Regions from separate parts of the Homo sapiens genome. Here all the other regions are linked to region 6. Evidence: promoter capture Hi-C in 16 types of primary human blood cells and fetal thymus (Javierre and others, 2016). All regions are on one chromosome and are shown on one strand. The core of a region is centred on a gene start or on the middle of the fragment in contact, and the rest is flanking DNA. Distances in the headings are between cores, read along the strand shown. Region 1 overlaps HEATR3 (HEAT repeat containing 3). Region 2 has its middle 14 kb from the start of TENT4B. Region 3 overlaps HEATR3-AS1 (HEATR3 antisense RNA 1). Region 4 has its middle 32 kb from the start of TENT4B. Region 5 overlaps TENT4B (terminal nucleotidyltransferase 4B). Region 6 holds the start of NKD1 (NKD inhibitor of Wnt signaling pathway 1). Region 7 overlaps HEATR3 (HEAT repeat containing 3).

What was found. Contacts are between HindIII fragments. The CHiCAGO score rates a contact against its expected background, and 5 or more counts as called.
Region 1: a fragment that was not itself captured here is called in contact with the fragment with the promoter of NKD1 in region 6 in 2 of 17 cell types (activated CD4 T cells and naive B cells); the score reaches 6.0 in activated CD4 T cells.
Region 2: a contact is called between a fragment that was not itself captured here and the fragment with the promoter of NKD1 in region 6, in 1 of 17 cell types (non-activated CD4 T cells). The highest score is 5.3, in non-activated CD4 T cells.
Region 3: a fragment that was not itself captured here is called in contact with the fragment with the promoter of NKD1 in region 6 in 2 of 17 cell types (total B cells and total CD8 T cells); the score reaches 7.0 in total B cells.
Region 4: a contact is called between a fragment that was not itself captured here and the fragment with the promoter of NKD1 in region 6, in 2 of 17 cell types (non-activated CD4 T cells and naive CD8 T cells). The highest score is 7.6, in non-activated CD4 T cells.
Region 5: a fragment that was not itself captured here is called in contact with the fragment with the promoter of NKD1 in region 6 in 7 of 17 cell types (non-activated CD4 T cells, naive CD8 T cells, total CD8 T cells and 4 more); the score reaches 12.2 in non-activated CD4 T cells.
Region 7: a fragment that was not itself captured here is called in contact with the fragment with the promoter of NKD1 in region 6 in 2 of 17 cell types (naive CD8 T cells and activated CD4 T cells); the score reaches 6.2 in naive CD8 T cells.

What each region holds. Positions count from the first base shown.
Region 1 is chr16:50,102,927-50,106,601 of GRCh38, forward strand. HEATR3 (HEAT repeat containing 3) reads left to right here. Exons shown (of 15, transcript NM_182922.4): 15 at 2,013-3,675. The coding sequence ends at 2,135. Among named protein-coding and RNA genes, the nearest start is that of HEATR3-AS1, 38 kb to the left of the region's middle. The HindIII fragment of the contact is 3,825 bases long and covers 1-3,219 here.
Region 2 is chr16:50,137,400-50,140,889 of GRCh38, forward strand. No RefSeq gene overlaps it. Among named protein-coding and RNA genes, the nearest start is that of TENT4B, 14 kb to the right of the region's middle. The HindIII fragment of the contact is 2,454 bases long and covers 349-2,802 here.
Region 3 is chr16:50,050,020-50,053,922 of GRCh38, forward strand. All of the region lies in intron 2 of HEATR3-AS1 (HEATR3 antisense RNA 1), which reads right to left. Among named protein-coding and RNA genes, the nearest start is that of HEATR3, 14 kb to the right of the region's middle. The HindIII fragment of the contact is 9,594 bases long and covers 1-3,903 here.
Region 4 is chr16:50,119,811-50,123,462 of GRCh38, forward strand. No RefSeq gene overlaps it. Among named protein-coding and RNA genes, the nearest start is that of TENT4B, 32 kb to the right of the region's middle. RefSeq lists silencers at 1,656-1,745, 2,036-2,095 and an enhancer at 3,320-3,652. The HindIII fragment of the contact is 210 bases long and covers 1,661-1,870 here.
Region 5 is chr16:50,156,662-50,160,042 of GRCh38, forward strand. All of the region lies in intron 1 of TENT4B (terminal nucleotidyltransferase 4B), which reads left to right. Among named protein-coding and RNA genes, the nearest start is that of TENT4B, 5.0 kb to the left of the region's middle. The HindIII fragment of the contact is 5,097 bases long and covers 1-3,381 here.
Region 6 is chr16:50,545,914-50,549,824 of GRCh38, forward strand. It overlaps NKD1 (NKD inhibitor of Wnt signaling pathway 1), which reads left to right and starts at 2,483. Exons shown (of 10, transcript NM_033119.5): 1 at 2,483-2,665; 2 at 2,804-2,836; 3 at 3,509-3,642. The coding sequence starts at 2,641. RefSeq lists silencers at 2,126-2,575, 2,616-2,805. The HindIII fragment of the contact is 5,196 bases long and covers 2,076-3,911 here.
Region 7 is chr16:50,082,595-50,086,298 of GRCh38, forward strand. HEATR3 (HEAT repeat containing 3) reads left to right here. Exons shown (of 15, transcript NM_182922.4): 8 at 1,343-1,433; 9 at 1,540-1,697; 10 at 1,975-2,057; 11 at 3,621-3,704. Among named protein-coding and RNA genes, the nearest start is that of HEATR3-AS1, 18 kb to the left of the region's middle. The HindIII fragment of the contact is 2,772 bases long and covers 769-3,540 here.

The DNA.
Region 1 (3,675 bases), core at 57-2,556, 440 kb before region 6:
TAATTTTTGTATTTTTAGTAGAAACGGGGATTCGCCTTGTCATCCAGGCTGGTCTCGAACTCCCAACCTCAGGTGATCTGCCCACCTTGGCCTCCCAAAGTGCTGGGATTACAGGTGTGAGCCACTGTGCCCAGCCATATTGTTCTTAAAGGTTACAGTCCTTTAAATTTCTGGATAAAGAGCTTGCAAGATAAGAAAAAAATATCCCCTATTTCCCTGCAGCTTCAAGGAAAGCAGATATATTAATAGTTAGAGTCATCAAACTCTGCAGAAGCAGGTGCTTAAAAAAGGTTAAACAGTGAACTGGGAAAATAACCCCTGACTTCTGAAAGGTCTTTGTTCTGATTGATTTTCCTACTCAGTATGTATTGCTGTGGTAATAACATTTGTTTTTCTTTTATCAAAGGTATAAAGCTCTAATGAGATTTCTTCCTAGCCAGAGGCTAGCCTGTAGTTATTTATGTGAAACTCTTTTTTTTGCTAAATGAAGCCACAATTTGTGTTAAAGGCTATTCAGTGTATATTTAGCTGCAAAATGCATTTATGTACAATCAAGAACTTCTCTTGAGCAGTGTTTCTCAAAAGTGCCCTCCTTGTATCAGCAGCATCAGCCCTTGCCTGATAACTTATTCAAAATGCAGGTCCTCGGCCCCAACTCCTGACCTACTGAGTCATAGACTCTGTGGATGGGCCCACCAGTCTATTTTTCAACAAGCCTTCCAGATGATACCGTTGCACACTAAAACCTGAGAGCCACTGCTCTAGACTAGAGGTGAGATCAAACTCAGATTCCATACAATTGATATAAAAAACCACAGGCCAGGCGCAGTGGCTCACACCTGTAATCCCAGCACTTTGGGAGCCCCAGGTGGGAGGATCACTCGAGTCCAGGATTTCAAGACCAGCCTGGGAAACATAGCAAGAACTTGTCTCTACAAAAAAATTTTTTTAAGTTAGCCATTAAGTGGTGGCTCATGCCTGTCATCCCAGCTACTCAGGAAGCTGAGCAGGAGGATCGTGTGAGTGCAGGAGTTGGAGGCTACAGTGAGCTCAGTGGATTGCAGCACTGCACTCCAGCCTAGGCGATGAAGCAAGACCCATCTCTATTAAAAACAAAAAACAAGCAAACAAACAAAACCAGCGCTGGGCATGGTGGCTCACACCAGTAATCCCAGCACTATGGAAGGCCAAGGTGGTAGGATCACTTGAGCCCACGAGTTCAAGACCAGCCTGGGCAACATAGTGAGACCCCACCTCTACTAAAAATTTAAAAAAATTACTCCAGCATGGTAGTGCGCTGCTTGTAGTCCTAGCTACTGTGGTGGCAGAGGCAGGAGGATCACTTGCGTCCGGGAGGTCGAGGCTGCAGTGACCCATGACTGCAGCACGGCTCTCTGGCCTGGGCGACAGAGAGAGACCCTGTTCCAAAAACAAAAAAACCACAACACTACAGACTAACCTCTGGCTAACAAAGGAATTTTTTTTTTAAGGTGGGGTCTCACTGTGTTGCCCAGGCTAGTCTTGAACTCCTGGACTCAAGCAAACCTCCTGCCTCGGCCTCCCAAACTGCTGGGATTACAGGCATGAGTATGCACCCAGCCTAACAAAGGAATTTCATTAAGGCTTTATACCTTTGAGAGAAGAAAAACAATTAAGTATTATTACCATAGCAATGCATACTAACTAGGAAAATCAATCTGAACAGCAGACCTTTCAGAGGTTAGGGGTTATTTTCCCAATTCATGGTTTACATAATTCCTTTCTATAGTTTATATAACTCCTACCACCTGCCATTCAGTCACCTTTGTAACTATCATTTTTAATAATGCACATTCTCAGTTTATTCTTTACTTACCGAGTTCCATTTACCTTGGAAGTAAAAACATTTTTTCCAAATTCTTACAGCTATCTGCTTCAGCAAATGGTTAAATACACCCTAAATTAAATACTTTATTTAAATGAATTAATCATATCTACCAAGTCATATATGATTTTTTGTTTTTTGTTTGCAGATACGTAAAGAAGGGAGAGGTAACTATAGCACAGATCAGCTGTGTGTTCTTGACAATGTGAAAATGAATTTGCGAAGATTTATTGCTTATCAAGAAACTGTTGAGAAAAGACTGACTTCTTAAACAATCCAAAAAAGAAACCAGTTCTTCCCCCAAAGTATTCAATGCTTAGAATACTAAAAGGTTTTCTTTGAATGTATATGTTTCTGAAAGTCATTTTTTAATGATTACATTCTGTACATTCTGTAAAAACTTCAAAACCTGGCCAGGCATGGTGGCTCACGCCTATAATCCCAGCACCTTGGGAGACCGAGGCGGGTGGATCACTTGAGGTCAGGAGTTTGAGGCCAGCCTGGCCAACATGGTGAAACCGCATGCATAAGCATGGTGGCACATGCCTGTGATCCCAGCTACTCGGGAGGCTGAGGGAGGAGAGTCGGTTGAACCTGGGAGACAGAGGTTGCAGTGAGCTGAGATCACGCTACTGCACTCCAGCCTGGGTGACAGAGGGAGACCCTGTCTCCAAAAAAAAAAAAAAAAAAAAACTTCAAAACCTGTCAGAAACTCTGTTGCTGGTTTTTTTGTGTGTGTGTTTTGTTTGTTTGTTTTGTTTTGTTGTTTTTTTCTTTTTTGAGATGGAGTCTCACTGCTGCCCAGGCTGTATTACAGTGCTGCGATCTTGGCTTACTGCAACCTCTGCCATTCCAGGTTCAAGCGATTCTCATGCCTCAGCCTCCTGAGTAGCTGGAATTACAGGCACCCACCACCACACCTTGTTTTTGTTTTTGGTTTTTTGGTTTGTTTTTTTTTTTCAGTAGAGACGGGTTTCACCGTGTTGGCCAGGCTGGTCTCAAATTCCTGACCTCAAGTGATCCGCCTGCCCTGGCCTCCCAAAGTGCTGGGATTACAGGCATGAGCCACCGTGCCTGGCCAGAAACTCTTTTTTAAGTGATGAGATCTGTGTGGCATTTCTAGCGCTCTCTAAATTATGTCTCTGGCATATTTTAATCACTGGAAACTCAAAGAGTGGAAGAGTGGAAGTGCGAAGGAATCTCAGGTAGCTCTTAACTAATTCGCCAGCAGTGAAGAAACTTCAACCAATCATGTTTTCCTTGAATTTTGCAAAGAAAGAAAATCCAAAGCATTGCTTGGATGTTCTTTTAAGGCATTTTATATCAGTTGAACCTTAAACTGAAATATGAAGACAAGCTTTATAAACTAGTTTTTTGATATGAAGTATATCAATTATGTTTGCCTTTTGTGAAGAAGTAAATGAGTTGAATTTCTATTTCACTTACTAGATTATACTAATGAGCTAATGGGGTCATTGCCATCCTCCCTACTCATGACTTTGATGAGTTATTGCTGTAACATCACTTCTTGATTTAATTTGATATGGAATCAGAATTGGGAGAAGGTATTTTTAAATAAACAACTTTTTAATGGAAAGTTTTGTGTCTTACAAAATCTTTTTTAAGATACCAAATAAAGGGTTATTAGTAGAAAATGAGATGATACTATTCGTGGATATTTGTTTGCTAATGCATATTGCTTGGAATATATGTGAGACATTAAAAAAATGACAGCACGACTTTGCAGCATTACCTCTCAGTGTCTTCGAAGTACTAGGTGACAGCTGGGGCTCGAGGGAGTTTCCCTGTGC
Region 2 (3,490 bases), core at 326-2,825, 410 kb before region 6:
TCTTCATGAGTCAGACTATTCTGATTGCTGCCTTGATTCTGCTGTTCATCATGGCAACCACACCCCCCTTGCCTCTGTTGGTTGAGTCCCAAAACTTGGAACCTGCCACTCTGGGCAGGGGTGGGATCCAATGACTCCCATTGCATTTAGGCTTCCCGATTCTGTGAGTGCAGTTTCCATCGAAAGGCCAGGCCTACAGAGTAGGGTGATCACAGAGCTCTCCAAGGATGTGCTCCCCTCATGATGTTATGTTTCACGGTACTAGTGAAAGGTGTGTCTTTTGAACCTTCCCAGTGTGGGTGAATAGGCCTTAAATGACAAATTCACTCTAGCATGCCAATCTCCCTAAGCTTCTGAATTCCTTTCCCTACATAAAACCAAGGCAGGTACGGCATTTCCAATTTGCTCACCATGGACCAGGTTTTGGTCCATGTTTTCCATGTTTGAGCCAACCAACTGAAGTGTTAGAGCTTTTTCTTTTCTTTCCTTTTTTTTTCCCCCAAGACAGAGTCTTGCTCTGTCACCCAGACTGGAGTGCAGTGGCTCGATCTCAGCTCACTGCAACCTCTGCCTCCTGAGTTCAAGCAGTTCTCCTGCCTCAGCCTCCCGAGTAGCTGGGATTACAGGTGCCCGCCACCACATCTGGCTAATTTTTGTATTCTTGGTAGAGACAGGGTTTCACCATGTTGGCCAGACTGGTCTCGAACTCTTGACCTCATGATCTGCCCTCCTCAGCCTCCCAAACTGCTGGGATTACAGGCGTGAGCCACCTTGCCTGGCCTTTTTGTTTGTTTGTTTGTTTTTTGACAGGGTCTCACTCTATCAGCCAGGCCAGAGTATGGCTCACTGCAGCCTCGACCTCCCAGGCTCAAATGGTCCTCCTACCTCAGCCTCCTGAGTAGCTTGGACTACAGGAACACACCATCATGCCTGGCTGGCTTTTTTTTTGAGATGGAGTCTCACTCTGTCACCCAGGCTGGAGTGCAATGGCACGATCTTGGCTCACTGCAACCTCTACCTCCCGGGTTCAAGTGATTCTCCCACTTCAGTCTCCTGAGTAGCTGGGACTACAGGTGCATATCAGCATGCCCAGCTAATTTTCATATTTTTAGTACAGATGGGGTTTCACTATATTGGCCAGAGTGGTCTCAAACTCGTGACCTCAAGTGATCTGCCCACCTCAGCCTCCCAAAGTGCTGGGGTTACAGGCATGAGCAACTGTGCCCAGCAAGTAATTTATAAATTACACTTTACCATAGGTATGTGTATATAGAAAAAAGCATAGTATATGTAGGGTTCGGTACTAACCACAGTTTCAGTCTTCCACTGGGGGTCTTGGAACATATTCCCTTAGGCTAAGAGGGGACTACTCTACTTGAGTTTTCTAATTTATATGGACAGAAATGGGAGAGCATGTGTGAGAATGGATACTAAGGGTATGCGATGATGGTGGAAAGAACATAAGGTTGGGTCAGGCTAAATTAATTGATTTGGGCCCACTAAGCAGAGATTCTGCCTTTAATTCTTCAGTTTAGGGAGTTAGAAAGGCTCTACGACAGGTGTGGTGGCTCAAGCCTGTAATCCCAGGATGCTGGGAGGCTGAGAAGACAGGATCCCTTGAGCCCAGGACTTTGAGACCAGCCTGGGCAACATAGCAAGACCTTGACTGCACTAAAAAAAAAAAAAAATTAGGCCAGGCATGGTGGCTTGAGCCTGTAATCCCAGCACTTTGGGAGGCCAAGGCAGGCAGATCACCTGAGGTCGGGAGTTTGAGACCAGCTGGTGCAACATGGCAAAACTCTGTCTCTCCTAAAAAAAAAAAAAAAAAAAAAAAAAAATTAGCCAGGCGTGGTGGTGTGTGCCTGTAGTCCCAGCTACTCAGGAGGCTGAGACAGGAGAATCACTTGAACCCAGGAGGTGGAGGTTGCAGTGAGCTAAGATTGTGCCACTGCACTCCAGCCGGGTGACAGAGTGACACTCTGTCTCAAAAACAAACAAACAAACAAACAAAAATTAGGCACCGGAAGAGATTAACAATAACTAATAATAAAATAGAACAATTATAACAACATGCTGTAATGAAAGTTGTCAGTCACTGTAGTCTAACTTGCAATTTGAGGTGTGACAGCAAAACTAGCATGAATTTCATTACTTTTTCCTTCTTCACAGTTTCACAGATAAAAGATTTGTTCTTACTATAGATCTTAGCAACCTCAACATATGAGTTTTTTTCTTTCCTTATTAAGTTGAGCACTTTCACCTCCTTACTTAGAAGAAGTACTTGACAGCTTTTCTTTGGCATATCTGAATTGCCAGCATCACTACTCTTACTTTGGGGCTACTATTGAGTGAAATAAAAGCCACTTGCACACAAACACTGTGATACCATGACAGTCAATCTGATAACTGAGACAGCTACTAAGTGAAAATGAGTGAATAGCATACACAGTGCAGGTATGCTGGACAGAGGGATGATTCGCACCCTGGGTGGGATGGTGTAAGTTTTTTTTTTAATTTATTGTGTTATTTTATTTATATTCTTTATTTCTTTTAAACAACCCTAAGTCCATTTAGCAATGACACGATATTTTATCACACTACTCAGAACAACACGCAATTGAAATTATGAGTTGGTTGGGCATAGTGATTCATGCCTATAATTCCAGCGTTTTGGAAGGCCAAGGTGGGAGGCACCATTGAGGCTAAGAGTTCAAGACCAACGTGGACAACACAGTGAGACCACCATCTCTACAAAAACAAAACAAAACAAAACAAAACGATACAAAACAAAAAAATTGGCCAAGCTTGGTGGTGCACACCCGTAGTCCCAGCTAACTTGGGAGGCAAGATGGGAAGATGGATTGAGCCCAGGAGTTCAAGGCTGCAGTGAGCTATGATCACACCACTGTACTCAAGCCTGAGTGGAGAGCAAGACCCTATCTGTCTCAATAACAAAAGAAAACAAAACAAAACAAAAACAGAAAAAAAAGTATGAGTTGCTTACTTCTGGAATTTTCCACTTAATACTTTTGAATCATGGTTGACTGTGGGTAACTGAAACTGTGGAAAGCAAAGCCATGGATTGGGGGGACTGCTGTAGTTCTTTTGGAGCATCGCATCCCTCCTCTTGGGTCACACTTTGTACTTCGCCTTAGGGACCTACTGGTACTTGGGTCTAGTTACAGGTCTAGAAGCAAAGGGGGTTGTTGAGGTGGTCCCGTAACAGAATCAGCATAGTCTTGCCTGTCAACTGCCTCAGTGGAGGCCTTTACAGTTTCCTCAGGCAATGCAGAGTTAATTCCCTGAGATGGGGCTGGGAGAGTGATGGGGAGACCCATACCACTGGGGTAGGGAGGCCTCTTCCACTGGCAATGGAGATACATCAGACTTTCGGGGCTCAATGTCTCTTATCAAGGTCTTCCCGCACATCCCTATTTCAATTTCCAGGATCCTATTGTTTCCCAATCAATATGCTCACTTTAACAGTAGA
Region 3 (3,903 bases), core at 316-2,815, 500 kb before region 6:
CATGTTTTATCACATTTGACACAGATTCCCTAAGTAATCAATTGTAAACATTTTATTTATTTATTTGAGATACGTAAAACAAGCCATCTGTTACTTTTTTTTTTTTTTTTTTTTTTTTTAGATAGAGTCTTACTCTGTTGCCCAGGCTGGAGTGCAGTGGCAGGATCTCAGCTCACTGCAACCTCTGCCTCCTGGCATCAAGTGACTCGCCTGCCTCAGCCTCCTAAGTAGCTAGGATTACAGGCGCTCAATACCACACCCGGCTAATTTTTTTGTATTTTTAGTAGAGATGGAGTTTCACCTTGTTGGTCAGGCTAGTCTCAAACTCCTGACCTCAAATGATCCACCCACCTTGGCCTCTCAAAGTGCTGGGATTACAGGTATGAGCCACCACGCCCGGTCACTCCATCAGTTACTTTTAAAAAATCCTTACTTCCAGGCTGGGTGTGGTGGTTCACGCCTGTAATCTCAGCACTTTGGGAGGCCAAGTTGGGAGGATCACTTGAGCCCAGGAGTTCGAGACCAGCCTGAGCAACATGGCAACACCCTGTCTCTACCAAAAATGCAAAAATTAGCCAGGCATGGTGGTGCCCACCTGTAGTTCCAGCTACTCAGGAGGGCTGAGGTGGAAGAATGGTTTCTGTCTGGCAGGTGGAAGCTGCAGTGAGCTGAGATCATGCCTTGCACTCCAGCCTGGGCAACAGAGTCAGACCCTGTCTCAAAAATATTAATTAAAAAGAAAAAATAAATAAAAATTTCTTACCTCCATTGTTACCTGAAAATTTGATAAATCCTGATTTTGATGTAGCATGGAAGATAATGCAAAAACAAAAATACATAATCACTAATATTAATAGTTACTTATTTAAAAACTGAAGTGATATTAGCCCATTGATCAGTTAAAAATAAATAAAACAAGTACAAAAATAGAGTAACCTTTAGAGGAATCAGGGCTTGCCTTGACATAATTAAAACCAGATGGGAATGCAAGCAGCTAAAGCAATATACAAAGAACAAAGTTTGGAGGCATCTATCTGACTTCAAAAGATTCTACGAGGCCATAATAAACGAAACAGCATGATATTGGCATAAAAACAGACACACAGACCAACTGAACAGAATAGAGAATTCAGAAGTAAATCCACATATTTACAGCCAACTGATTTTTTTTTCTGTGTGAATTCCGCCACAAACAGCCAACTGATTTTTGACAAAGGTGACAACAACATACACTGGTGAAAGGACACTCTCAATAAACGGTGCTGGGAAATCTAGATATCCCTATGCAGAAGAATGAATCTAGACCCCTCTCTCACCACGTACAAAAAATCAACTAAAAATGAATTAAAGGCTTAAATGCAAGACCTGAAACTATAAAACTACTAGAAAAAGCATAGGGAAAATGCTTCAGGACATTGGTCTAGGCAAAGATTTTATGCCTAAGACTTCAAAAGCACAGGCAACAAAAACAAAAACAGACAAAAGAGGCTATATTAAACTAAGAAGAAAAGGAAACAATCAACAGAGTAAAGAGACAACCTGTAAAATATGAGAAATTATTTCCAAACCATTCATCCAACAAGGGACTAATATCCAGAATATACAAGGGACTAATATCCAGAATATACAAGGAACTCAAGCAACTCAACAGCAAAAAAACAAATAATCCCATTAAAAAGTGGCAAAGGCTGGGTGTGGTGGCTCACACCTGTAATCCCAGCACTTTGGGAGACTGAGGCAGGCAGATCACAAGGTCAGGAGATTGAGTCCAGCATGGCCAACATGGTGAAACCCCATCTCTATTAAAAACACAAAAAAATTAGCCAGGCGTGGTGGCATGTGCCTTTAGTCCCAGCTACTCTGGAGGCTGAGGCAGGAGAATTGCTTGAACCTGGGAGGTGGAGGTTGCAGTGAGCCAAGATCATGCCACTGCACTCCAGCCTGGGTGACAGAGTGAGACTCCATCTCAAAAAAAAAAAAAAGGAGGGGTAAAGACCACATGAATAGGCACATCTCAAAAGAAGACACACAAATAGCCAACAGGTATATGCAAATATGCTTAACAGCACTAATCATCAGATAAATGTAAATCAAAACCACAATGAACTATCATCTCACTCCAGTTAGAATGGCTATTATCAAAAAGACAATAAATAAATAAATAAATAACAAATGCTGGCAAGGATGTGGAGAAAAGGGAACTCTTATATAATTTTGGTGGGAATGTAAATTAGTACAGCCATTATGGAAAACAGCATGAAGTTTCCTCAAAAAACTGAAAATAGAACTACTGTATAATCCAGCAATTTCACCACTGTGTATTTATCCAAAGGAAAGGAAATCAGCATATCAAAGGTATACCTGCTCCAGCCATGTTTATTGCAGGACTATTCACAATAGCCAAGTTACAGAATCAACCTAAGTATTCATCAACCAATGAGTGGATAAAGAAAATGTGGTATATATACACAGTGGAATACTATTCAGCCACAAAAAAGAATAAAATCCTATCACAGCAACGTGGATGGAATTGGAGGTCATTATTTTAAGTGAGATAAGCCAGGCACACAAAGACAAATATTGCATGTTCTCATTCACATGTGGAAGCTAAAAAAGTTGCTCTCATGGAAGTGGAGAGTAGAATGATGGTTACCAGGGGCTGGAAGGAAGTAGGGGAGGGAGCTTGGTTAATGGGTGCAAACACATAGTCAGATAGAAAAAACAAGCTCTAGTGTCCAGTATCACAATAGGGTAACTGTAATTAACAACAATTTATCGTACATTTCAAAATAGCTACAAGGAGAATATTGAACGTTCCCAATGCAAAGAAATAATAAATGTTTGAGATGATGAACATGCTAATTACCATGCTCTGAGCACTATACATTATATGTATTGAAACATCCCTATGTACCCCATGAATATACACAATTATTTCTTGTCAATATAAAAAATCAAAATTTAAAACAAAACAAATAAAAATTGCTAGAAGAGATTTCAAATATTCCCAACACAAAGAAATGATGAATGTTTGAGGTGATGGATATGCTAATTACCCCGATTTGATTATTACATTGTACGGATTATATGTATCAAAGTATCACATGTACCCCATAAATATGCACAATTATTATGTATCAATTTTTTTAAAAACTACATGGGAATGTACTAGCTCTTCAGCAGAGACTAGAAGTTCCTAGACGGAGAGTGGGGTCATTGATTGCTGAGCAAAGGAAACAAGAAACTACAAATAGAAAGGAAATGCTGCCCACCTGGGAGCAAAGAAAAGAAACTGCAATATTAAGTGAGTTTACCTGGAAAATGATAATTTTTAATTTAATTAATTAATTAATTTTTTGAGACAGGGTTTCATTCTTGTTGCCCAGGCTGGAGTGAAATGGCTCGATCTTGGCTCACTGCAACCTCTGCCTCCCAGGTTCAAGCGATCCTCCTGCCTCAGCCTCCCAAGTAGCTGGAATTACAGGTGCCCACCACCACACCCGGCTAATTTTTTAAAATATATTTTTAGTAGAGATGGGGTTTCACCATGCTGGCCAGGCTGGTCTGGAACTCCTGACCTCAAGTGACCCACCTGCCTCAGCCTCCCAAAGTGCTACGATTACAGGCGTGAGCCACCGTGCCTGGCAGAAAATCATAATTTTTTTAAAGTGGAAAATTTTATAAGAATACTACAAATGTTGGCTGGGTGCAGTGGCTTATGCCTGTAATCCCAGCACTTTGGGAGGCCGAGGCGGGTGGATCACAAGGTCAGGAGTTCGAGACCAGCCTGGTCAATATTGTGAAACCCTGTCTCTACAAAAAAATCAAAAACTTAGCCAGGTGTGGTGGTGCACACCTGTGATCCTAGCTACATGGGAGGCTGAAGCAGGAGAAGTGCTTGAA
Region 4 (3,652 bases), core at 516-3,015, 430 kb before region 6:
AAAGAAAGAAAGAAAGAAAGAAAGAAAGAAAGAAAGAAAGAAAGAAAAAGAAAGAAAGAAAAAGAAAGAAAGAAAAAGGAAAGGGAAGGAAGGAAGGAAAGAAGGAAGGAAATATGTTGAGATAGATCCTTCCTGATCATTCTTCTTTCCTCCTTCTCATCACTTGGGAATCTGAGGATGTGGCACCAGGATTCTCTGCTCCAGGAACACCAATTTCCCCACTTGAGTTACCCATCCTTTGTGTCTCTTCTCCAGGAGCTCGCACTCCAACCAATTAAGAAAAGATTTGGCTACAATGACACATTGGCTGGAAGACACACCCACAAACCCATGGACCACCGGACTGTGAGTAACAGTCCTTACTTATGCCTCCTTGCACCCCAGTGTTAAATATTGGTAGAATGAATAAATGAATGAATGAATGAAAGGCAAAGACAGCTATTTAGTCAAGTACCCAGATATTTCTTGAAAAGGATGTTATTGTGGCCAAGAGGCTGTGTGCCACCTTATTTATTTATGTATGTCACCCAGACTGGAATGCAGTGGTGCAATAATAGCTCACTGCAGCCTCTAACTCCTGGCCTCAAGTGATCCTTCCAGCTTGACCTCCCAAAGCTCTGGGATTACCAGGTGTGAGCTTTGCCTGGCCTAAGCATAACTTTTGATCTTCATAGGATCCAAAGTCATGAACTTGTAGCCACGTTGACAACTTGTCCGGCTTGAACAGATTGAATAATCAAGCAGACGTAGCCATAGTGTCACCTGTGAGAAACTGCAATATTTTATAGCTGCTTTGTTTGTTTTTTTGAGATGGAGTTTCACTATGTTGCCCAGGGTGGTCTTGAACTTCCTGGACTCAAGCAATCCTCTCGCCTCAGCCTCCTGAGTGGCTGGAACTATAGGGACTCACCACTGTGCTAGGCAAAATTGTAATGTCTTACAGACACATACACACACACAAAAAAAACTAATTATGATTTAAAAAGCTAGACAGAGATAATATCTTATAACTCAAGGTTTTTCAGCCATCAACACATAGATGTTGATTAATCATTCAACATTAATTATGGTTGTGTTTTTCAGGTCCTGTTTTAGAACTTTGAACAGGTCAATAATCTTGTATTGCTGTGGTCACAGTCCCTTGCTAATTACTGAAGGTAAATAAGATGTGATCACAAGAAACAGTCCACTCACTGTGTCTCACATATTCTCTATAGCCCTAAGAGAAATGACTTCCATTATATTTTAAGTTGGTTATATTGGCTAGTTTCTTTCTTTTTTCTTTTTTTTTTTGGAGATGGAGTCTTGCTCTGTCGCCCAGGCTGGAGTGCAGTAGCACGATCTTGGCTCACTGCAACCTCCTCCTCCCAGGTTCAAGCAATTCTCCAGCCTCAGCCTCCTGAGTAGCTGAGATTATAGGTGCCCACCACCACACCTGGCTAACTTTTGTATTTTTAGTAGAGACAGGGTTTCACCATGTTGTCCAGGCTGGTCTCGTTCTCCTGACCTCAAGTGATCCATCTGCCTTGGCCTCCCAAAGTGCTGGGGTTACAGGTGTGAGTCATCGCACCCAGCTATATTGGCTAGTTTCAAAACAGATCAGGGGCTATCCATTTGAAACCGTCCCACTAACATGATATGACAAGGTTTGTAAGTGATAAGCTTGGCAGCTTCGATTTCTGGCACAAGGTGTGTGGCCTCCCAGAGCTCTAGCCTGTCCTCTCTGACTCAGTTTTTCTTGCTCTGTAATGGGTTCTGTCCATTTGTCAGCCTGCAGATTTTCAGCTGGATTTTTTTTTCATGTCAGCCAAATAAATACAGAAATTGCTCCCCCCACCCTGATTATAATCATTTTGGCCACATTTTTCAAAGCTTACTCTTAGACCATCCCAAAACTCCAGGGTAACTCCATATTATTATTCAAATTTTTTCTCAAATTAAATGTCTGTTAGGCTGGTTACACAATCACAATAAGGGAAAAGCTTGGCCCTTTCATTTTGCATTTTACCTCAGAGAAGGTCCTTGTGGCTTGACTTTGCACATTACTGGAAACAGAATTTGCCTTTCTGCTCCTTTGTGAGGTAGTCAAAGCACGATGTGCATGTGGTTCCAAACACATTTAATTCTGTAGCTATTCTTTTGTTGAAGGCGCTCACCACAAAACATCCTGGAGGGGGATTACGGGGCAGGTGCAACAGACAAGGGTGTTTCCCGGATGGGGAAGGCAGAGCGCCAAGTAAAGGAGTAAGTGCTGAAGAAGGGATTTTACTTGAAATTGGAAGTCATAGGAGCTATTTGGTTTTGGGGGTGCATGTTTAAGTGATACATTTATAGATTAAAAACGAAATTCAGGCCATGTGCTGTGGCTCACACCTGTAATCCAGTACCTGCAGAGCCCCTCCTGCCTTGGCCTCCCCCAGAAAAACAAAGAATTTCAGAGTCAATAGCACGTTATGTTTTGACTACATCACAAAGAAGCAGAAAAGGGCCAGGCACCGTGTCTCACGCCTGTAGTCCCAGCACTTTAGGAGGCTGAGGCAGGCCGATCTTTTGCGTTCAGGAGCTCAAGACCAGCCTGGCCAACGTGGTGAAACCTCGTCTCTACTGAAAATACAAAAAAATTAATCGGGCATGGTGGCATGCACCTGTAGTCCCAGATACTTAGGATGCTGAGACAGGAGGATAGTTCGAACCCAAGAGACAGAGGTTGCAGTGGGTTGAGGTTGTGCCACTGTACTCCAGCCTGGGTGACAGAGTGAGTCTCCATCTCAAAAAAAACCCCCAAAACAAACAAATGACAACAACAAAAGCAGCAGAAAGGTAAATTCTTATTTTCCTCTTTTAAAAAAATTTCCTTTGTTTTAGGAATTCTTTTTCCAGACATGTGTCAAGCCAAGCCATGAGGGCCTTTTCCAAGGTAAAATGCAAAACAAGCGGGCCAAGCTTTTCCCTTATTTTTCCCTCCTTGCCTAGGAGTTTGAGACCAGCCTGGGCAACAGAGCAAGACCTCGTCCCTACAAAAAAATGAAAAAAAAGAAAACAAAAACAAAAACAAGTGGCTGGGTGCAGTGGCTCATGCCTGTAATCCCAGCACTTTGGGAAGCCGAGGTGGGCAGATCACGAGGTCAGGAGATCGAGACCATCCTGGCTAACACGGTGAAACCCCATCTCTACTAAAAATACAAAAACAATTAGCCAGGCATGGTGGCAGGCGCCTGTAGTCCCAGCTACTTGGGAGGCTGAGGCAGGAGAATGGCGTGAACCCAGGAGGTGGAGCTTGCAGTGAGCCGAGATGGTGCCACTGCACTCCAGCCTGGGCGAAAGAGCGAGACTCCGTCTCAAAAAAACAACAAAAAAAAGTAGCTGGATGTGGTGGTGCTTGCCTGTAGTCCCAGCTACTCAAGAGGCTGAGGTGGGAGGATTGCCTGGGTCCAGGAATTGGAGGCTGCTGTGAGCCATGATCACACCATTGCAGATCCAGCCTGGGTGACAGAGCGAGACCCTGTCTCAAATAAATAAATAAATAAATAACAGTTCAGAAGAGTATAAAGTGAAAGTCTCAATTTTTCATGGATTTCTTATGCTCTAGTTTTCCTCCCCTGGTCTTCTGTTACTTCCATGTATACCCTTCTAGAGATAGACGATGTGTATG
Region 5 (3,381 bases), core at 326-2,825, 390 kb before region 6:
TTTTTTCTTTTGAGACTGGGTCTCACTCTGCTGCCTAGGCTGGAGTGGAGTGACGTGATCATAGCTCACTGTATCCTCTAACTCTTGGGCTCAAGTGATCCTCCTGCCTTAGCTTCCTGGAGTAGCTGGGACTACAGGCACATGTCACCACACCTGCCTAATTTTTTTATTTTTACTTTTTGTAGAGATGGGGCCTCCATTTGTTGCCTAGGCTGGTCTTCAACCGGCCTCAAGCAGTCCTCCCACCTTGGCCTCACAGAGTGCTGGGATTATAGGCATGAGCCACCATTCTCGCCAGTATCCTTATTTCTTAACTTTAGAAAGTTTTTCTATTTTTAATATAGGTATTTAAAAAAATCTGAATTCAGAGTGCACCTCGATGTTATGCTGTTCTGAGATTAAATATACTAAAACTGTTACCATTGTTTTCTGAATTCTTAAGATGTGACTGATAGTTAGCTAATAGGTTAACACATTGTGGTGGTTCTTGGCCTCTGAACTGATAGTCCAGATGGGGAGAGGAGACCAGAAAGCATGTGAAAATGGACTAGAACCATGGGACAGCTATATAGTCTCTCGCAGCTGTCTTTTGTGTTCTCTGCTTCCACCAAATTGGTTGATTTATTTAGAATGCTGACCTCTTGCATTGCCTAAGTCCTTGATGTTTTTGGTTTCTCCTCTGAACTCTCAAAGGTACTCACTTCATGCTCTTGGTATAGCCCACTTATGTTTAACTTTCCTTTTATTATGTGTTCCCTCTTACACATGACATGGACATTTCTTTAATATGTAGAGTAAGATATTGGATTTCATCCTAAAGTCTTCAAAATAAAACTCTTGAGCTCATCATCTCAGACTTCTTCATGTACCCACAGACCAGGGATTTTGTTTGCTTTTTAAAACATTTTTTTATTTTGTGTTTTATTATTTTTAAATTTTAATTTAATTTTATGGAGACAGGGTCTCGCTCTGTTGCCCAGGCTGGAGTGCAGTGGTGTGATCTCGGCTCACTGCAGCCTTTGCCTGGGCTCAAGCCATCCACATGCCTTGGCCTCCCAGTGTGCTGGGATTACAGGTGTGAGCCACTGTGCCTGGCCTAAATTTATTTTTTTAATTTTTTTTGAGACAGGGTCTTGCTCTGTCGCTCAGGCTGGAGTGCAGTGTCATAATCATGGGTCACAGCAGCCTTGGCCTCCCAGGCTGAAGTGAACTTCCCACCTCAGCCTCCTGAGTAGTTGGGACTACAGGCGAGTGCCACCATGCCTGGCTCATTTTGGTTTTTTTTGTAAAGATGGGGTCTTGTCATGTTGCCCATGAAGGTCTCCAACTCCTGGTCCAAGTGATCCTCCCGCCTCCGCCTAGCAAAATGTTGGGATTACAGGTGTGAGCCACCATGCCTGGCCTTATTTATTTATTTAATTATGAATGAATGAATGAATTAATGAGAGGGAGTCTTGCTCTCTTGCCCAGGCTGGAGTGTGGTGGCACAATCTTGGCCCACTGCAACCTCCGTCTCCCAGGTTCGAGCAATTCTCCTGCCTCAGCCTCCCGAGTAACTGGGATTACAGGCGCCCGCCACCATGCCCAGGTAATTTTTGTATTTTTAGTAGAGATGGGGTCTCACCATGTTGGCCAGACTGGTTTCGAACTTCTGACCTCAAGTGATCTGCCCACCTTGGCTTCCCAAAGTGTCAGGATTACAGGCATGAGCCACCATGCCTGGCCTGGCCTTTTATGTTTTAAGTTGCTTCCACTGATTCTCTTGGGCTTTGCTCCCCTCCAGAACTGGCCATGGTTTAGGATGCTGTCCACCTGCTGCTGCTTGTCCATGAAAACGAGCCATAAACCCTTTTCTTTTGAAAGACTTAATTGTTTATCACTATGGAGAAAGAGGGGATGGCAAGAAGTAGCAAATACAGGGAATTTGCAGAACTTGGTCTTGAGCCCTGGGTCCAGAAACTTCTTCTGGAAGGTGCTTGGTGTTTGTCCAAGCTCATGATAGGTTTCTGTTGGCTGTACTGCCAGATCTGTAGATGCTTTTTTAAGGCTTGGATGACTTGTTCAAAACAATGTTTTGGAGTACAAATTTGGCTGTGGGGACATCAAGACCTTGTTGGGAAACTTGGGTTTAAGGTACAATTTCTTAAACTAGGATGGTGGGAATGGGGATGTGAAGGGAGAATGAATGTGAGAGGTATTACAGGGTAAGGATGGAGATGATTCAGATTCCTTAAGTGGATTTAATAATCACACTGTAGCTTTGAACTTGAGTGACTGGGGAAATATTTGTGGTGTTTTTGGAAATAAGGGCCAGAAGGACTATTGGTTTGGGTAAGAAGATAGTAGGGGGATGTATAGGTGGACCTGCTAGTGGGGAGCTGAGATTTGGAGGGCTGAGATGTAGTGCTCTTCACTGCCGTAGGGCAGTATCCTCTTGTATGTGCCATCCTCTAGTGCCCATTGTTCATCATGTCATAGTAAGCCCAAGATGTTCATGCCTTTTTTCAGCACTGCATTAGGGCTTATATCTGCTTCTCTTTCTCTCTCTCTCTCGCTCTCGCTCCCTCCCTCTCTCTCTCTTTCTGTTTTTTTTTTTTTTTTAGACGGAGTTTCACTTGTGTTGCCCAGGTTGGAGTGCAGTGGCGCGATCTTGGCTCATTGCAACCTCTGACTCCCGGGTTCAAGCAATTCTCCTGCCTCAGCCTCCCAAGTAGCTGGGATTACAGGCATGTGCCACCATGCCTAATTTTGTATCTTTAGTAGAGATGGGGTTTCTCCATGTTGGTCAGGCTGGTGTCAAACTCCCAACATCAGGTGATCTACCTGCCTCGGCCGCCCAAAGTGCTGGGATTACAGGCATGAGCCACCGCGCCCGGCCTCTCTCTGCTTATTTCTACACAGTGTTACCAATGAGATTGGTGTTACTGCTGGGCTCCAAAGCAATCAGACAGATTAAAGTAGATTGAATATGAAAGAATTTAGAGGCCTTTTTCCAAGTGATTTGTGCTCTATTTAATTTCTGTGCATTTGCAGATATAGCCCACAGTAATTCTTAGTGAACTAGAACCTTCAGGTTATTGAATTTTACTGATTTGGGTACTGACATGCGCTTTTAAGAAGACATTAGGTTTTCTATAGTGTAGATTGTACACTAACAATATAATTCATATTTAAGAATGTCTCAAAATTTAGTATACTGTGTTCAACTAACTTAACTTTCTTTGTTTTTTTTGTTTTGTTTTGTTTTTGTTTTTTGAGACGGAGTCTTGCTATGCCACCCAGGCTGGAGTGCAGTGGCGTGATCTTGGCTTACTGCAACTTCAACACTCCTGGGTTCAAGTGATTTTCCTGCCTCAGCCTCCTGAGTAGCTGGGATTACAG
Region 6 (3,911 bases), core at 1,233-3,732:
GCCTCTACCCACTAGATACCTCCAGGCATTACCAAGTGTCCCCTAGAGGGCAAAATTGTTTGCTGTCAGGTCCTTATGGGATGGAAAGAAAGAAAAATGGCCTGTTACCCCTGGTGTAACTTACTACACTGTTTACTAATTCATCATTTATTGTTTCTTGCCTATCTTCCCCCTAGGTGAGTGGGAGTTCGATGAGAGTGGCAGTTGTCTATTTTGTTCACCGATGTATCTTAGGTGACTAAAACAATGGTTGTCACATGGCTGGCCCTTCATATTTGTTTCCAGATGGAAGACTCTCTTTCTAGTGGTGGAACATTAGTTTTGCACTGTGTTGGGACAACCTGATGTAGTGAAAACAAGCCTGGGCAATGAAATCAACAGATTGGAGTTCAGTTCCTAATTGGGTCATGGATGAACTTTGTGACCTTGGGCAAGTGAGTTCACCTCTCTGAGTTGAATAGGTTCCCTCCTTTCTAGAACAAGTATGAGTCTGCATCAGAGAGTGGTTGCGAGGGCTACACATGATGGAGGATGAGGACTGGCACATCAGAAGTACTGAATGAAGAATTGTAACATAAAAATGACAACAGTAATATATTTTTGTGGTTTCAGCACTCTTCAAATGAAACCACCTGGCCAACAGGATTTTAGTGTACCTGCTTATAACATTAGCCTTCGTTTCCACCAAAAAGGGTGTTAAAAAAGGAAGCTTGGAACATGAAAGTAAGACACTTGGATGAAGAGATTTATGACTCTGGGGGGCTGTGAATTCCTAATGTCCTTTTGAGACATGTAGATCTTCCAGAGCGATGCTGCCCAATGCAGTAGCCACTAGCCAAGTGCAAATGGTCACTTGCAATATGGCTAGTCTTTGAGATGTGTTTTAAGTGTAAAATACACACTGAATTTTAAAGACTTAGCGCAATACAAAGAATGTAAAATATCTCATTATATCTTGAAATTATACTATTTTGGATATATGGTGTTCCCTTGGTGTCTTTGGGGACTGGTTCCAGGATCCTAGAGGATACCCAAATCCCCAGATGTCAAGTCCGCTATATAAAATGTCCTGTAGTATTTGCATATAACCTACACACATCCTTCTGAATACTTTAAATCATCTCTAGATTCCTTGTAATTCCTAATACAATGTAAATGTTATGTAAATAGTTGTTATACTATATTAAAAAGTTTTTTATTCTTTATTTTTGCTGTATTATTCTTTTTGCATATTTTCAGTCCACAGATGGTTGATGCCACAGATGTGGAACCTGTGAATAAGGAGGGCTGACTGTATTGAGTTAAGCGAAATATATTATTAATATTTCATCTATTTCTTTTTACTTCTAAAAGATGTGGCGACAAGAAAATTTAAAATTACAAATGTGGCCCACATTATATTTCTATTGGGCAGTGCTGCTCTAGAGAGTCGGCAAAAAGGGCAGAATGGAGCCTCCATTATACAGATCACAAAACTGAGCACAGGTAATTCACTCCAAAGGTCGGGGCTGGTCTCACTCTGAGCTGCGGGTTTTCTTTTCCCACGCCAGAGCTGCCTGGTGCCAGGACGAGCGTAACACGGACCCACAGTGTCCCCAGAAGGGGGCAGGCGTTCTGAGAGCCACAAAGGTGGGGTGGAATCCCTTGATGTCGACCGCCACCATCCCCCTCCCCCCGCGCGACCTCCCCGCAGAGACCTCCCCAGACAAAACAAACAAACCCTTGGGTCTGGCGAACTGCAGCGGGGAGCGGAAACCAAGGAAGATCAAAGACTCAGCGGTTACCCCCTTCCGGGCCGCGCAGTTTGGCAGCGCGCCCCGACCCGGGCGGGCACCCACGGGCCCCCGGACGAGGAGATCCCAGAGACTGGCTGATAACGGGGCGCTTTGGACATTTGTCGCTGCCTGGAGAGGGCTGGGCTCACACTGGCCCGGGGTGCGCTGGGGGCTCCTCCTGGACTCCCCAAATAAGAAACTAGAGGAGTGCGGTGGTGGGGGGCGGGTCACGGGGCGGGTAATGAACACTTTCTGCAGAAGGTAGGTCGTGGGAAGACTGGGAAAAGGCAGCGCTGCCGAAGCTTGCACCTGAGCAGCTAAGGTCTCCGCTCCCGACCTCAGTTTCCCCACCTGTAAATTGGAGCCGCCGAGTCCCGCCCTGCCCGTTTAGAGAGAACGTGGAGCGGAGGGAAGTGACAGTACAGTTAGCGATGGCCGGGCTGTTCTGTCCCAATACGCCTCCTGGACAAGCCGCCCCGCCGGGTCGCCAGCCCTGGAGCTCGGCCCCCGGCCCCAGACCGCGGCAGGGAGCGCGGACTGTGTCCCGCCCCTCCCGTCAGCGCCCCGCCCTCGTCCCCGCCCTGCCCCGCCTCCGGCCCCGCCCCCGCCGCAACCAGCCTTGCCTTTGATGCGCCGCACCGGCCAATGGGCGCGCGGGGAGGCGCGGGCCGCGGCGGCGGGCTGGGGGCTCGGCGCTCCCGGGCGTCAGTCGGGCCGCGGCGACGGCGGCAGGAGCGCGTCCCGGCGCCGCCTCGGGCTCCGCTCGGCTCGGGGGCTGCTTCGGGAGGAGGAGAGCCAAGGGAGGCGCCAGGCCCGCGGGCCGGGCGCATGGCTTAGGGACGCTCCCGGCCGCCGCAGCCCCAGCATGGGGAAACTTCACTCCAAGCCGGGTCAGTGCCCCCGCCCGCGCGCTCGCCCCGGGCCCCGCCGCCGTCGCCGCCGCGGTCGCTAACTCTCTCCCTTCCTTTCTTTCCTTCTCCCGCCGCCGCGGCTGCCGCCGCCGCCGCCGCCTCGCGATGTGCCTGCAGCCGCCGTGTGCAAGCGCAGGGAGAGCCCGGAAGGTAGGGGCGCGCGGGGCGCAGACCTCGGGGATGGACGCGGGGGACACCGCGGCCGCGGCAGAACGGCCCAGCCCGCCAGGTCTTATGACCAGGGCCACCCCGAAGCCCCAGTTCCGGCCACCGGCCCCCCAAGCCCGCTCCCTGAGCAGCCTTCGCGCCCCCTCCTCTGTCCCTCCTACCCGCTCCCCGCGGTCCTGCGCTCCCACCGCTGACCCTCAACCCCTCCCCCTCCCGCGTCCCTGCCCTCGGCTCTCACGGCACCCTCTCTTCAGACCCCCAAGCGCCTCCCCGCAAGACCCTGCCCCCTCTTCCTGCCCCCCGGCCCTTCTTCCGATATCCTGGCTCCTGCACCTACTGCGGCCCCTCTCCTGACCCCCAGCCCTCTCCTCCGCAGTCCTGGCTGCCAGTGCTCCCTGGTCTGATCCTAAACCCGTCCTCCTGGGGTACTGCTCACCCCTCTTGCCCCCTTCTGGCTCCTCGCTCCTAGGGCTTCGCTGAACCCCCCTTTACTTACCCGCGTCCCTCTCTTGGCTCCTGCCCCAGCCCGCGAACCCCCTCCTGGCCCCCGTGCCGTGGTCCTTCGCCTCCCACCGCGCCTCCTTCTTCCCTCCGCGGGGGTAACTTTTGGCACCTGGAGCCAGACTCAGGGGCTTCATGTCGTCCCCGTCCCAGGTGACAGCTTCGCCGTGAGCGCTGCCTGGGCTCGGAAGGGCATCGAGGAGTGGATCGGGAGACAGCGCTGCCCGGGCGGTGTCTCGGGACCCCGACAGCTGCGGTTGGCGGGCACCATAGGCCGAAGCACCCGGGTATGATTCCCCACCCCTGCCCCACCTCCTGGCCTCCTTTCAGCCTCAGAGATGGGTCCCCAAACCCATGCACCCCAACTTTGAGCACTTTCCTGCACAGCTTCTGGGTCTGAAAATCTCTTCTCAGCTGCCCCCTGCCCCACCAACGCGACCCTCTGCCCGCATGCCTTGGAGAACCTCGAAGTGCCCAGCTGGAGGCAGAGGGCTGCCTGGGGGAAAGGTCCTAGGTGGGGAGGTGGTGAAGGTCCAGTTGATGGGGAATCGTGTCT
Region 7 (3,704 bases), core at 905-3,404, 460 kb before region 6:
ATGCTTAGAAGTTACAGTTAAATTGTTGCACAAAGAAGCCACTGGGGCTGGACATGGTGCTCATGCCTGTAATCTCAACACTTTTGGGAGGCTGAGGTGGGAGGATTACTTGAGGTCAGGATTTCAAGACCAGCTTGGGCAATATACTGAGACCCCATCTCTCAAAAAAAAAAAAAAAAGCAGGTAAATTTTTTTTCTTTTTCTTTTTCTTTTTTTCTTTTTTTTTGAGATGGAGTCTCACTCTGTTGCACAGTGGTACAATCTCGGCTCACTGCAACCTCTGCCTCCTGGGTTCAAGGGATTCTCCTGCCTTGGCCTCCCAAGTAGCTGGGATTACAGGCATGCACCGCCATGCCTGGCTAAGACCTTGTCTCTACAAAAATTAAAAAAATTAGCCAGGCATGGTGGCATGCACCTGTAGCCCTAGCTACTCAGAGGCTGCGGCAAGAGGATTGCTTGAGTCCAGGAATTTGAGGCTGCAGTGAGCTATGAACGTGCCACTGCACTCCAGCCTAGGCAACAGAGTGAGACTCTGTCTCTAAGGGGGAAAAAAAAAGACAATTGAAAACTGAAGTTTGGAAATATTCAAATAGTAAAATATACATTATTTTTAGCTCATGTACTGTTTTGGAATATCAGTATGGTTATTTCACTTTCCATAGACAATTTGATAATTAAGGTTATATAAATTTATATTACCCATTTTAAGAAATGTTGGTTGATAATGTTAAGTTTAAGTTGGCGTTATATATTTTCAGAGAAAAAAAAAGCTTCCTTCTTTCTTTAGTCTTAGAGAAATGCTTTATTATAGTCTTTACAGAAAGGCAGGAAGCAAGTCTGTCTGCTCCATAGCAAGTTCTACAGGTCACATAAGGGCTCGTTAGTAGTGTGTGTTAGCGCAGCCATTCCAAGAAAGACATCTAAGCTAAGCATCTAAAAGCAGGTTTGGTGTTTCTAAGTGCCTGGTGTCTGAAATGAACTCTTGTTTAAATCTTAGTATGCCCAGCTACTTCTTGACACAGTAGATAAGTTTCAGGGTGAATTCTGTTCAGAATTCCTGAATATTTGTCTGTTCTCTCCAGCTAACTAAGTGACGCTTGGGGAATAGCCATGCAGATAGATGGAAACCCAGTTAACGGGGGCATGCTCCACTGTACCAAGAGGAATTATAATGCTCGTTTGTACTTCTGGCACTTCATGACTTTTCTTTTACCTACCCCATTCCCCGTGTGCTCTATTCCAAGCGCAAAAATCTTCTAGTAGGCTTTCACTAAGGAAATTCCCCAAAAACATTTTCCCAACCATTGAGAGTTGGTCATTTACTTTTTTTTTTTTTTTTAAGCCCACTGACAAGGAACTGAGAGAGACTATAGCATTGCTGACAGCCCAACAGACTGCTCTGGAAATTATTGTCAACATGTGCTGCAATGAAGGTTTGTTAACATTTACATTTAGACATTTTCCCCCTGAGCCAAGAGGGAAACTCCCGTGGAGATTTTCTTAACTATTCCAGTTCTGCGTGGTTTGCCCGCTTCCCAGATCCCTCTGATGACGAATGGGAAGAGCTTTCTAGCAGTGATGAAAGTGACGCATTTATGGAGAATTCCTTCAGTGAGTGCGGGGGACAGCTGTTTTCTCCCCTCTGCCTCTCCCATGAAGTTCACACGGCTCTCACCAACTACCTCATCCCAAAGAAGGTAATCCATTTTCATTCTAGGCTTACCGTGGAGCATGGGAAAGGCTTAAGCAAGGTATTCATTTTGTGTACAAAAGAAGCAAGCTCACACTTCCAGGTTGTAGATGGTGGTAAGATCTGAGACAAAGCTGAGCCTAACAGTACTGGAAATAGGCGAAAAGGTCATTCTATATGAAGCCTAACCATTTCACTTAGGAGTAATATGTTGGAATTATGTAAGGGAATCGTGTTAAATGACTACTCTTTAACCTTTGCTTTACTGCCTCTTTTAAATCTAGATTTTTGAGAAAACTGCCTTTCCAAACAGCATTGCAGTTGACCTATGTTCTAGGAACCCTACTTGGAAACCTTTGATTAGAAAGTAAGAACTCTTCTGCTTTCAAAAACATTTGTCATTATTTTATTTTATGAAATGATGGGCTATTAAATAGAAGGTGCTGACTCCCCCTAGGACCCAGAAGTTTTGTTCCTGGGTATATATACCAGAAAAATATGTGCCCACATGCCCTAGAATACATGTATATGAGAGTGTTCATAGCAGTGTGTGTCACAGTTGCCCCAACCCATAAACAAACGTGTTGTCCATCAGAGTTAGAATGGTAAATAAATTTTGACAAAATCACGCAGTACAATACATGCAGCAGTAAAAGGGATCTGAATTAGAGCTACTCACAACTCGGATGGAACTTACATTGTTGAACCAAAAAAGCGAGACATAAAAGAATACACACACTGTGATTCAGTTTTTACAAAGTTGAGAAACAGGCAACATTGAACTATTTTGTTCAGGGATGCATACCTTGGTGATAAACCTATTAAAAAAAAAAAGAGGCAAGGAAATGTTTACCATAGAAGTCTGTATGGTGCTTACCTGTAGGTGTCAGGGAGGTGGGATATTATATGGAAGAGATACAGGGGCTTTCAGGGTCCAGCAGTGTTAATTTCTTTCCCAGGTGCATGGGTTTTGGTTTCATAGACTGTTTGTTAAACTCTCTATGTATGTTGTGTACTTAACTGTATATATGTCACATTTCACAATTAAAAATAATTTTAGGCTGGGCATGGTGGCTCACACCTATAATCCCAGGACTCTGGGAGGCCAAGGTAGGAGGATCACTTGAGGCCAGGAGTTTGAAACCAGCCTGGGCAGCATAGCAAGACCCCATCTCTACAAAGGAAAAAAAAATACAAAAATTAGCCTGGCATAGTGGCACTCAGCTGTAGTCCTAGCTACTTAGGAGGCTGAAGTGGGAGGATTGCTTGAGCTCAGCAGTCTAAGGCTGTAGTGAGCTATGATGGTGACACTGTACTCCAGCCTGGGAAACAGAATGAGACCCTGTCTGAAGAAAATTATAATTTTAAGGATGCTACCCTACATAGAAATTTTTCTAAAACATATTCCTCATGACTCATGAATGAGTTGTGTATCAGAGGCCGTGAATATTCAAGCAGTTTGATTTGGCAGATTAACAGTTCACCTTATAATTCTAGCACTTTGGAAGGTACAGGCAGGAGGATTGTTTGAGGCCAAGAGTTCCAGAGCAGCCTGGGCAACATAGCAAGACCCCTATCTACAAAAAATAAAAAACTTAGCCAGGTGTGGTTGCATGCACATGTAATCCTGCTCCTTAGGAGGCTGAGGCAGGAGGATCACTTGTGCTCAGGAGGTTGAGGCTACAGCGAGCTGTGATCACACCACTGCACTCCAGCCTGGGCAACAGAGTAAGACCCTGTCTAAAAAATGATGATAAATTTTAGAAAACACAAAAAACAGTTCACCTTGTGATTCTTTGCTAACTGCCATAGATACCTTGTATTTACAGATATTTCCAGTCAGAACGTGAAGCTTAGGCTAAAAGTTAATACTGAATTCTGATGGGCAACTTCTGGAGAATCAGATGGCATTGTTTCACTTCCTTTCCAGAATGAACACTATTCAGTGCAGAGCCCTCTTCTGTCTCCAGAGTCTTGTGTCCCTCCTGGATGTGGAGCACCTGGGAGGAGCCGC